Regions from separate parts of the Homo sapiens genome. Here region 2 is linked to region 1. The links are contacts of gene promoters, found by promoter capture Hi-C in human tissues and cell types (Jung and others, 2019). All regions are on one chromosome and are shown on one strand. Each heading gives the region's core, a stretch centred on a gene start or on the middle of the fragment in contact. The rest is flanking DNA. Distances are from core to core; before and after follow the strand shown. Region 1 holds the start of NKAIN1 (sodium/potassium transporting ATPase interacting 1). Region 2 overlaps LOC124903917 (a long non-coding RNA gene).

Evidence for each region. Contacts are between HindIII fragments. The study calls those that stand out against the background at their distance.
Region 2: a contact is called between a fragment that was not itself captured here and the fragment with the promoter of NKAIN1 in region 1, in 2 of the 25 tissues and cell types used here (neural progenitor cells and spleen).

What each region holds. Positions count from the first base shown.
Region 1 is chr1:31,237,376-31,242,881 of GRCh38, reverse strand. It overlaps NKAIN1 (sodium/potassium transporting ATPase interacting 1), which reads left to right and starts at 2,995. Exons shown (of 7, transcript NM_024522.3): 1 at 2,995-3,388. The coding sequence starts at 3,335. The HindIII fragment of the contact is 31,179 bases long and covers 1-5,506 here.
Region 2 is chr1:31,558,017-31,563,599 of GRCh38, reverse strand. All of the region lies in intron 2 of LOC124903917 (a long non-coding RNA gene), which reads right to left. Among named protein-coding and RNA genes, the nearest start is that of TINAGL1, 16 kb to the left of the region's middle. RefSeq lists a silencer at 298-592. The HindIII fragment of the contact is 4,161 bases long and covers 1-4,010 here.

The sequences.
Region 1 (5,506 bases), core at 1,746-4,245:
GTGTGAGCCACCACGCCCGGCCAAAGAGACCCACCTTAAAGTCCAGGGAGAAGACACAATTGGCTTCATGGGCATGTGACCTCTGCAGTCACACAGGACCCTGCATGTTTTGTTTTCTGTTCTTTGTTTTTTTGAGACACCGTTTCACTCTGTCACCCAGGCTGGAGTGCAGTGGCACAATCTCAGCTCACTGCAACCTCCATCTCCTGGGTTCAAGCAATTCTCATGCCTCAACCTCCCAAGTAGCTGGGATTGCAGGCACATGCCACCACGCCCAGCTAATTTTTGTATTTTTTTAATTTTTATTTTTTGAGATGGAGTCTCACTCTGTCACTAGGCTGGAGTACAGTGGCGTGACCTTGGATCACTGCAATCTCCGTCTCCTGGGTTCAAGCGATTCCCCTGCCCCAACCTCCCTAGTAGCTGGGATTACAGGCATGCACCACCACGCCTGGATAATTTTTTGTATTTTAGTAGAGATGGGGTTTCACCATGTTGGACAGGATGGTCTCGATCTCCTGATTATCTGCCCGCCTTGGCCTCCCAAAGTGCTGGGATTACAGGTATAAGCCACCACGCCTGGCCTAATTATTGTATTTTTAGTAGAGATGGGGTTTTGCCATGTTGGCTAGGTTGATCTTGAACTCCTGACCTTAAGTGATCCGCCTGCCTTGGCCTCCCAGAGTCCTGGGATTATAGCGTAAGCCACAGCGCCCGGCCCCCTGCATGTTCTTGACTTCACGCTCTGCTGTGTTGCCATCTTGAAATTCTTAATTTTTTTTTTTTTTTTAGATGGAGTTTTGCTCTTGTTGCCCCAGGCTGGAGTGCAGTGGGGTGATCTCAGCTCACCACAACCTCTGCCTCCTGGGTTCAAGCAATTCTCCCACTTCAGCCTCCTGAGTAGCTGCGAATTACAGGCATGTGCCACCACACCTATCTAATTATTTTTTGTATTTTTAGTAGAGACAGGGTTTTTCCATGTTGGTCAGGCTGGTCTCGAACGCCTGACCTTGTCATCTGGCCAGGCCTCCCAAGTGCTGGGATTATAGGCATGAGCCACTGCGTCTGGCCGAAATTCTTAATTTTTTAACAAGAAGTGCTGCATCTTCATTTTGTGCTGGGCCCCCCAAACTATGTAGCCAGTCCTGGAAGAAAACAGTGACACATTTATTTGCATGCTTACTATGTGAGCAGCAAACAAGTGACAGTGCTGGAACCGGGACCCAGGCCGTTTGGGTCCAAAACCACGGGTCCTAACCTACATCTTACCATACTTCCTGTCTCTCGAATCAAGAGGGCTAGTGAGAGTGGAGAGGAAGGGAAAGAATAAGAACCTTCTGTTTCTTCCACCAGAACACTCTTCACTCCCCTGCCTCTCCTTCCTTCCTATTGTCGTCTCAGTATCAGTTTCGTTTCCTCAAAGAGGTGTTTCCTGGTCCCCAAACCTAAATTATGCCCCTCTCATTCTCTCTTTTCTCCCTTAGTATTTTATTTATTATTTATTTATTTTGACAGAGTTTCGCTTTTGTCGCCTAGGCTAAAGTGCAATAGCATGGTCTTGGCTCACTGCAACCTCCACCTCCCGGGTTCAAGCGATTCTCCTGCCTCAACCTCCTGAGTAGCTGGGATTACAGGTGCCTGATACCATCCCTGCCTAATTTTTGTATTTTTAGTAGAGATGGGGTTTCACCACGTTGGCCAGGCTGGTCTCGAACTCCTGAACTCAGGTGATCCACTCACTTTTGGGAGGCCGATCTCCACTCAGGTGGAGGTTGCAGTGAGCTGATTCAGCCTCCCAAAGTGCTGAAATTACAGGTGTGAGCCACCGTGCCACGTTTCTTCTTTAATATTCTTTAGAGTATTCATCAGAACTTTGCGTATTTATTTGTATATTTCCTTGTTTTAATGACAATCCCTCACTAGACTGTGTGCTCAATGAGGGCAGAGATTTTGTCGGGTTTTGTTCCCTTATCCCCAGCAGAGAACCTGGCACATAGTGGGTATTTCATAAATGTTAGTTGGAAAGTACAGTTTATAGAATGTAGTGACAGATCAGATGTAATTGTAGGGAAGCCTGGAGGATGACCTAGGAAATTCCACTTGGGTGATGCTAATTGCCAAGGTGAATATAGGAAGTTAGGAGTGGGACAGGAATGATTATGTGGATTTGAGATGTGTCCAGTTCGAGGGCTTTTGGGGGTGGCTTGGAGAAGGCAATCTTCTGCTGGGAAACTTCTGACTCTGTCCCTACTGCAGCCCAGGGTAGGGGCTCCCTACCTCCACCTGGGCAGATCTCTGCCATCACCCATCTCACTGGCGTGCTCTTGGGAGCCTATCTGTTCCCTGGGCGGTGCAGCTCTACGGGATTTGGAACAGTGTTGCAGGTCTCATCTCTGGCTCGCAGGGCCCCCAGGGGTGTGTATGCAGTCAGGGCTCAATAAATGCCAGTAGACGGAAAGAAGGAAGGCGAAAAATGTGGCCAGACACTCAGGGGAGAGGCTGGGGTGAGGAGCAGATCTGGGAACGTAAATAGAACTAGAAGTCCAAGTTGGAACCCTGGAGCCCTAGAGACAGGGTGGACAAAAAAGTGTTCCAAGCCAGGAGGCCAGGCACAGGGCTAAGCGCTTTATTCACATGACTGCATTTCATCTTCATATCTACACTAAAGAGGCATAATTATTCCTACTTTGTTCATGAGAAAACAGGTCCAGAGAGGTGACGTGATTTGCCCAAGGTCACACAGCGAGTGAGCAGCAAAGTCTGGATTTGACTCAGGGCTGTTGTCCCCTAAGCCCGCACGCACTCTTCCACTTCACTCCCTGCCTCTCCAACCCTCCACCTCCCTATCCCTCTCCCCTCCCCTCCGGCGGCTCCCCCGCCCCACCCCTCTGCCGTTCCCCCCAACTCCCTCCCTGTCGGTGGCGGCGGCGGAGCCACGTGGTGGGGCCGGGAAGCCGCGGCCGACGAGAGCCCGGGCGACTGCCCCAGCTGGGCAGTGCTGCTCTGCGCTGCGCCGCGCTCGGGGCTCGCTCTCCTTGCTCCGCGCTCCCCGCCAGCCGCCCCGGGGCAGGAGGCGCGCCTGACGGACGGCCCGCTAGACAAAGGAGGCGCGGCTCGGCGGGGCCAGCGCGCGGACGGACGGACCATGGACTCGGAGCGCGGGCGGCCGGCCCCAGCCTTGGGGACCGGACACTCCCGGGCCCGGCCCTAGGCGCCCGGCCCCGCCGCCCGGCGCGCCCAGCGGGGAGGACGTGGAGCCCGCGCGGCGCGAGCAGGCGGCGGCCGCGGAGCAAGAAGGGCGCCGCGGCGTGCGGCCCGCGCAGCCCCCGGAGCCATGGGCAAGTGCAGCGGGCGCTGCACGCTGGTCGCCTTCTGCTGCCTGCAGCTGGTAAGCGTCGCGTGCCCAGGCAGTCGGGGCAGGGTGGGGCGCGGCGGGGCGCGGTCCCAGGGCGTGCGGGTGGGGTTGCGTGTGTCTCTGTGTGTGTGTCTGGTGCGTGTGCCCGGGCGGGGGGTGGTCTGGAGTCTCGGAGCGGTCGGGCGGAGCCTGCTCCCGCTGGCCGGGCTGTCTCTTTGTGTGCGCTTCTCGCTGCTGTGCCCGGCGCTCCTCCGGTCCCCAAGTGCGTCCTGTGCGCGAGTCCCCGGCCCGCCCGCACTGTACAAGTGGCCTCCTGTTGGGGGATGCGCTGTGGGACGGTGGCTTGCTGGGACTGGGGGTGTGTCTGAGGCTGATCTGTGGATCCGTTGAGGTCCTGCTGTGTGTTTCCCTCTAGATCCCTCGTTTGCATGGGTCTCTCCCTTCCTCTGGGTCTCTGCCTCTGATCACCACCCCTGTGTGAGCGTTTCTCACAAAGTCTCTGCTCCGGCGTGTGTCTCTCAGGGTTTCTCTTTGGTGTGTCTCTAAATCGCTGACCATTTCTGGCCCATGTTCATCTGTGTTCTGGGATCTTAGACTCCAAGAACCCTCCAATCCTTTGTGTTGTTTCTGCCTCCCTTCACCTTCCTGACCGGGCAGTCCTGGGAAAGGAGAGCCACCTCCCTGGAGAGGGTCACCAGGAGCTGCCAGATCCTGGGCCAGCCTGACCCAGCCTGGACCACACTTCCTGCTTTGGTCTGGCCGCTGTGGCCATGGGGGTTCCATCAGTCATCAGTTCCACCCACCAGAGCAGCTCCTCTGCCGGGGCCAGCAACAGTGGGGATGGGGACACTTGGGTGCCCTAGGGAGGACCAGAGCATCTGAGGACACTGTGCCTAGCCCCAGCATAGGGAACTCAGGTTCTTGTCTCAGGGAGGAGTGACTGTAGTGGACTAGAAGAAACAGCACTGCCCTTCAAATCAGGCCCTGGCAGGGGAATTTGGGAGGGTGGTTAAGGAGAGGCAGGGGTCTCCTACCTACCCTAGAGCTGAGATTGAACAACTAGGGAGGTTGAAGCTGTGCTTCTCCTCTAGGCAGAGGTGCATGGGGACCTCCATCGCCGAACCCAGGTCTGAGAGTGGGCAGCGAGGAGCCTGAGCCCCCCTCATGCTGGACTCCTTGTTCTGGGTTTCCACTCTTGCCTGCATCCATCACGCCCTCCCCACCACAGGAGCCAATGATAATGTAGAGTGAAGTTTTGAGCCTGGACATGCAGACCTCCTCATTCGTCTTGCTTCTCTCCTCCTGGGGACACCAGCTTCAAACATGCCATCCACAGACCTGGCCTGGGCAGTGGTGGAAACAGCCCTAGCTCTGGAGATTGTAGCCCTGCTCCCAGCTGTGGGAGACTGGACAAGTGACTTCCCCCCACTGGCCGGCCTCAGTCTTCTTATCTGTAAAATGATTATCCCTGAGGATTGCAGAGGGAATTAATTAAGATCAGGTGGAATGGGAACTCCAGAAGGGCAGAGATTGTCTGTTTTTCTTTATCTACTTTGAGGAACATGAAATGCCAAGAAATGTTTAAACCTTTCAGAGGATTCTTCTGTGTTTGTTAATTTTTTAATTTTAAACTAGGGGTTTTTTTTAATTAGAAAAGTAATATACATATATTGTAAAAAATAAATACATACATAATCAAACAGGACAGATAAATAAAAAGTAAGTTTTCTAGGCCAGGCATCGTGGCTTATGCCTGTAACCCCAGCACTTTGGGAGGGCGAGATGGGCAGATCACCTGAGGTCAGGGGTTCGAGACCAGCCTGGCCAACATGAAGAAACCCCATCACTGCTGAAAATACAAAAATTAGGGGTGGTGGCACGCATCTGTAATCCCAGCTACTCGAGAGGCTGAGACATGAGAATCACTTGAACCCAGGAGGCGGAGGTTACAGTGAGATGAGATCACGCCGCTGCACTCCAGCCTGGACGACAGAGTGAAACTGTGTCTCAAAAAAAAAAAAAAAGTTTTCTTCTCTCTATAACTAGACCCCTCCCCAAAGGTGAACCTGTTAGCAGTTTGTCCCATGCTCATTCTCTGTTGGCGATAATAACGGTTAGCTTTGGAGAGCCCTTGACTAAGTGTCAGGTACT
Region 2 (5,583 bases), core at 681-3,180, 320 kb before region 1:
CACTGCACTCCAGCCTGGGCACCAGAGCAAGACTTGTCTCAAAAAAAAGAAAAAAAGAAAACAACTAAAAACACTGACATATTGGTGCAGCCATAGGGTAAGGCATCACTAGAACAAAGCTAAAGGGAAAACAGAAACGTAGACAGATAAACCATACGGGAAACTCACATTTACTCTGAGGGCACTTCCTGATTTGGGCTAGTTTGAACTGTTGTTTTGATAACTCCTCTAGGCAATGTACACAAATAAAAGTCCAGAGCACATGGTGGAAGATCAAATAGAAGACCTTCCCCCAAATTAGTTGGGATCCCAAAGAGCCATACTCTCAGAAGTAAACCAGCCCCAGTATGGACTTGTCAGAGGCGTTTGAATCAGAGGAAGAGCAGCTGCATCTTGAATAGGGGCTGGGTAAGATAAGGCTGAGACCTACTGGGCTGCATTCCTAGGAGGTTAGGCATTCTTGGTCACAGGATGAGACAGGAGGTCAGCACAACACACTGGTCATAAAGCCCTTCCTGGTAAAACAGGTTGCAGTAAAAAAGCCGGCCAAAACCCACCAAAACCAACATGGCAATGAGAATGACCTCTGGTCATCCTCACTGCTCACTATATGATAATTATAATACATTAGCCTGGTTCTATTTCTTACTGGCTGTAAGGTGAGGAGGAGGCTAGAAGACACTCCCACCAGCACCATGACAGCTGACAAATGCCATGGCAACATCTGGAAGTTACCCTATAGGGTCTGAAAAGGGGAGGAACCCTCAGCTCCGGGGATTGCTCACACCTTTCCCTGGAAATTCATAAATAATCTACCCCTTGTTTAGTGTATAATCAAGAAATAACCATAAAAATGGACAACCAGAGGCCCATGGTGCTGCTGGTCTACCTGTGGAGTAGCCATTCTTTCATTCCTTTACTTTCCTGATAAACTTGCTTTCACTTTACTCTATGGACTCGCCCCAAATTCTTTCTTGCACAAGATCTAAAAACCCTCTCTTGGGGTCTGGATTGGGACTCCTTTCCAGTAACAGACTTGCAGCTCTAATTTGTATCTCCTGGGTGGTCGGTAACCTCAAGCCTTGAACTTAGATTGAGGTGACCCTAGACTATTTGTTTCTTCCAAAGGTTTCTGGAAGAAGCAAATGAAAACCTTCTCTGGAGGGAGGTCCTTCAGTCAAGGCTCCAAATGAGTCACACAAAGAAATATTTAAGTACGACGGCCAGCACACAGTAAAAGATAATCAGGGCCGGGCGCGGTGGCTCACACCTGTAATCCCAGCACTTTGGGAGGCCGAGGTGGGTGGATCACCTGAGGTCAGGAGTTTGAGACCAGCCTGGCCAATATGATGAAACTCTGTCTCTACTAAAAATTAGGCGGGCATGGTGGCGGGCACCTGTAGTTCCAGCTACTCAGGAGGCTGAGGCAGAAGAATTGCTTGAACCCAGGAGGCGGAGGTTGCAGTGAGCTGAGATCGCGCCACTGCACTACAGCTTGGTGACAGAGTGAGACTCCATCTCAAAAAAAAAAAAAAAAAAAAAAAGATAATCAGGCACATAAGGAAATGAGACCACACAGCAAGAACCAGAAGAAATGAGAGACAATAGAAACATATCTATAAAGAATTTAAACACTGGAATTATTTTACATAGAATATAGAACAACCATATTTAAATAAACAATAGAGTAGCTTGAAAATATTTGCCTGGAACAGGATGAAAAGTGACAGTAGGTTTGAAGGGACAAACTGAACTTCTAGAAATGAATAATACAATTAACTAAAATTTAAAAATCAATAGCAAATTTAAAGCATTTTGGACATAGCAAAAAAGATAATTGGTGAATTGGAAGAAAGGTCAGAAGAAATAATCCAAAATGAGCATGGAGAGACATAAAGATTAAAAATAATAGCAAGAAATAGTAAAAGACACGAAGAATAAATGAGAAATGGATCTAACACTCTTGTAACTGGAACTTCAGGAGAGAAGAGAGAGACTAATGAAAACGTGATATTGGAAACGTCAGTGGCTGAAAATCTCCCAGAACTGATCAAAGCCATTAATCTACAGATTCAAAAAGCCCAACAAATCCCAAGTGGGATAAAAAAAAATTTTTTTTTGAGACGGAGTCTCGCTCTGTTGCCCAGGCTGGAGTGTAGTGGCGTGATCTCGACTCACTACAACCTCCACCTCCTGGGTTCAAGCGATTCTCCCGCCTCAGCCTCCCAAGTAGCTGGGATTACAGGTATCCGCCATCATGCCCGGCTAATTTTTGTATTTTTGTAGAGAAGGGGTTTCACCATGTTGGCCAGGCTGGTCTTGAACTCCTGACCTCAGGTTATCCACCTGCCTTGGCCTTCCAAAGTGCTGGGATTACAGGCATGAGCCACTTTGCCTGGCCAGATAAAATTTTTTTTTAATTTGCTGAGTGTGGTGGCTCACGCCTGTAATCCCAGCACTTTGGGAGGCCAAGGCGGGCAGATCACGAGGTCAGGAGATCAAAACCAGCCTGGCCAACATGGTGAAACCCGTCTCTAGTAAAAATACAAAAATTAGCCAGGCTTGGTGGTGCATGCCTGTAGACCCAGCTACTTGGGAGGCTGAGGCAGGAGAATCGCTTGAACCCGGGAGGCGGAGGTTGCAGTGAGCTGAGATCGCACCATTGCACCCCAGCCTGGCGACAGAGCGAGATTCCTCTAAAAAAAAAAAATTAATTTACACCTAGAAAAGCTTACATAGTGTATGATTCCAACTATGTAACATTCTGGAAAAGACAAGGCCATGGAGACAGTAAAAAGATCAGTGGCTGCCAGGGGTTTGGGGTGAGAGAGGATGAATAGATTAGAACAGGAAATTTTTAGAACAGTGAAACTATTTTGTATGATGCTGTAATAGTATATACATTTCATTATAAGTTTGTCAAAACCCATAGAATTTACAATACAAAGAGTGAACCCTAATGTAAACTATGGACTTTGGTCGATAACGATAATGTTGGTTTATTGATTGTAACAAATGTACAACACCCATGGAGGATGTTGATGTTAAGGGGGGCTGTGTGTGGAAAACGAGGGAGGGGCATGTGGAAACTCTCTGTACTTTGGTTTTTTTTCTTTTTCTTTTTTCTTTTTTTTAATTTTGAGACAGGGTCTCACTCCATCGCCCAGGATGGAGTGCAATGGTGCAATCACAGCTCACTGCAGCCTCGACCTCCTAGGCTCAAATGATCCTTCTAATAGCCTTCCTAGTAGCTGGGACTACAGACGTGCACCACCAGGTCTGGCTACTAATTTTTGTATTTTTTTGTAGAGATGGGGTTTGCCATGTTGCCTAGGCTGGTCTCGAATTCTGGGATTAAGCGATCCTCCTGCCTTGGCTGGGATTACAGGCATGGACCACTGCATCTGGCCAACTCTACTCTCTACTTGATTTTGCTGTGAACCTAAAACTGCTCTAAAAAAAAATGAAGTCTATTAATTCAAAAAGAATTTGCACCTAGACATATGTGGTGAAATAGCAGAATACCAAAGACAAAGAGAATATCTTAAAAACTGCCAGGAAAAAATGTCAGATTATCTTCAACAGAGCAAGGTAAGCTGAGAGCTAACTTCTCAAGAGCAACATTAAAAGACAGAGGATAGCAGAAAGATCATCTTCAATGTGCAAAAAGAAAATAATTGCAGGCCAAGAATTCTATACCCAGTGAAAACATCCTTTAAGAATGAATATGAAATAAAGACATTTTCAGACAAACAAAAGCTGTAAGTGTATGTCACCAATGGACTTGGAGTAGAAAGAAAAAAAAGCTCAAATTGAAGGTCAAAAATGCTAGAAAGAATGAAGAGAATTCAAATGGCAAATACATGGCAAATCTAAATGAAACTCGATTGTATAAAACGTTAATAATAGTGGTTAAAATGGAATTAAACTGTTGTAAGTTCTTTACATTGTCTTGGAGTAAATGTATCAATTAACTCTAGACTTGAACAAGTTAAATGTTCAGATTATAACTTCTAGGTTACTGGATAATGAGTAAAACAGACAGTGTAATTTCCAAATTAGTCGAAGAAAGCAGAAGTTTTTTTTTGGGTGAGATCTACTAAAAACAACAACAACAACAACAACAAAAATTAATATCAGACAAAATGGACTTTAAGGCGAGAAGTACTATTAGGAATAGAGAAGATCACTGTATAATAATAAATGGGGCTGAGCACAGTGGCTCATGCCTGGAATCCTAGCACTTTGGGAGGCAAAGGTGAGCAGATCCCTTGAGCCCAAGAGTTCGAGACCAGCCTGGGCAACATGGCTAAATCGCATCTCTACAAAAAATACAAAAATTAACTGGGCATGGTGGTGCATGCCTGTAGCCCCAGCTACTCGGGAGGCTGAAGTAGGAGGATCACTGGAGCCCAGGAAGTGGAGGCTGCAGTGAGCCATGGATCGCATTACTACACTCCAGCCAGGACAACAGAGTGAGACCCTGTTTCCAGAAACTGTAATAATAGTAATAATAATAAATGGATCAAGTCATCAGGAAGATATATCGACTTATATACAACTGAAAATCAATGAGAAAAAAGATAACCAAATCAAATGTTGAACAAAATACTTGAACAGGCATTTAACAAAAAGGAAAACCAAATTATGAATAAACATATGAAAAGATGCTTAACATCACTAGTAATCAGAGTACAAATTAAGACCACAAAAAGATATCACTACACACTCACCATATTGGGATAATTTACAGTTTTAACCATATCATGTGTTGGAAATTTCTAGACCTACAGAAAAATGTGACTGTTAAGAGAAAAAATAGATAGTAGTATCGGAACCACAGTGCCCCACATACTGGAGTTAGCAGACAAAAAAATGTAAGATAACCAATTAATATGTTAAATAAAATAGATGAAAAGATTGGCAAAGTAGATAAAAATAGAGATTGTCAGCAGAGGAAGTGGGATATCTTTCAAAAATAAAATGTTCTAGGACTGAAAAATACAACATCTGAAATTAAGAATTTATTGAATGTGTTTAGCAGAAGGACAAAGGACAGGGTTAGCAAACGAAGACAGGTCAACAAAAAATATCCAAGCCAGAAACACAGAAAAAAAAATAGAAGAAGGAACAGAGCGTAAGATTTGTGGGACATAGTTAGTAGATCTAACATTTGTGTAACTGTACTTCCAGAAGGCAAGAAAAAACTGAGGAAGAAGCAATATTTGAAGTAATATGGCTGATAATTTCCCAAAACTGTTGAAATATATCAACCCTTAAATTTAAGAAGCTTAGTAAATCCAGGTAGGATAAAAACAAAGAAAAGCACACAAGCGGCCGGGCGCGGTGGCTCACGCCTGTAATCCCAGCACTTTGGGAGGCCGAGGCGGGTGGATCATGAGGTCAGGAGATCGAGACCATCCTGGCTAACAAGGTGAAACCCCGTCTCTACTAAAAATACAAAAAATTAGCTGGGCGCGGTGGCGGGCGCCTGTAGTCCCAGCTACTCGGGAGGCTGAGGCAGGAGAATGGCGTGAACCCGGGAAGCGGAGCTTGCAGTGAGCCGAGATTGCGCCACTTCAG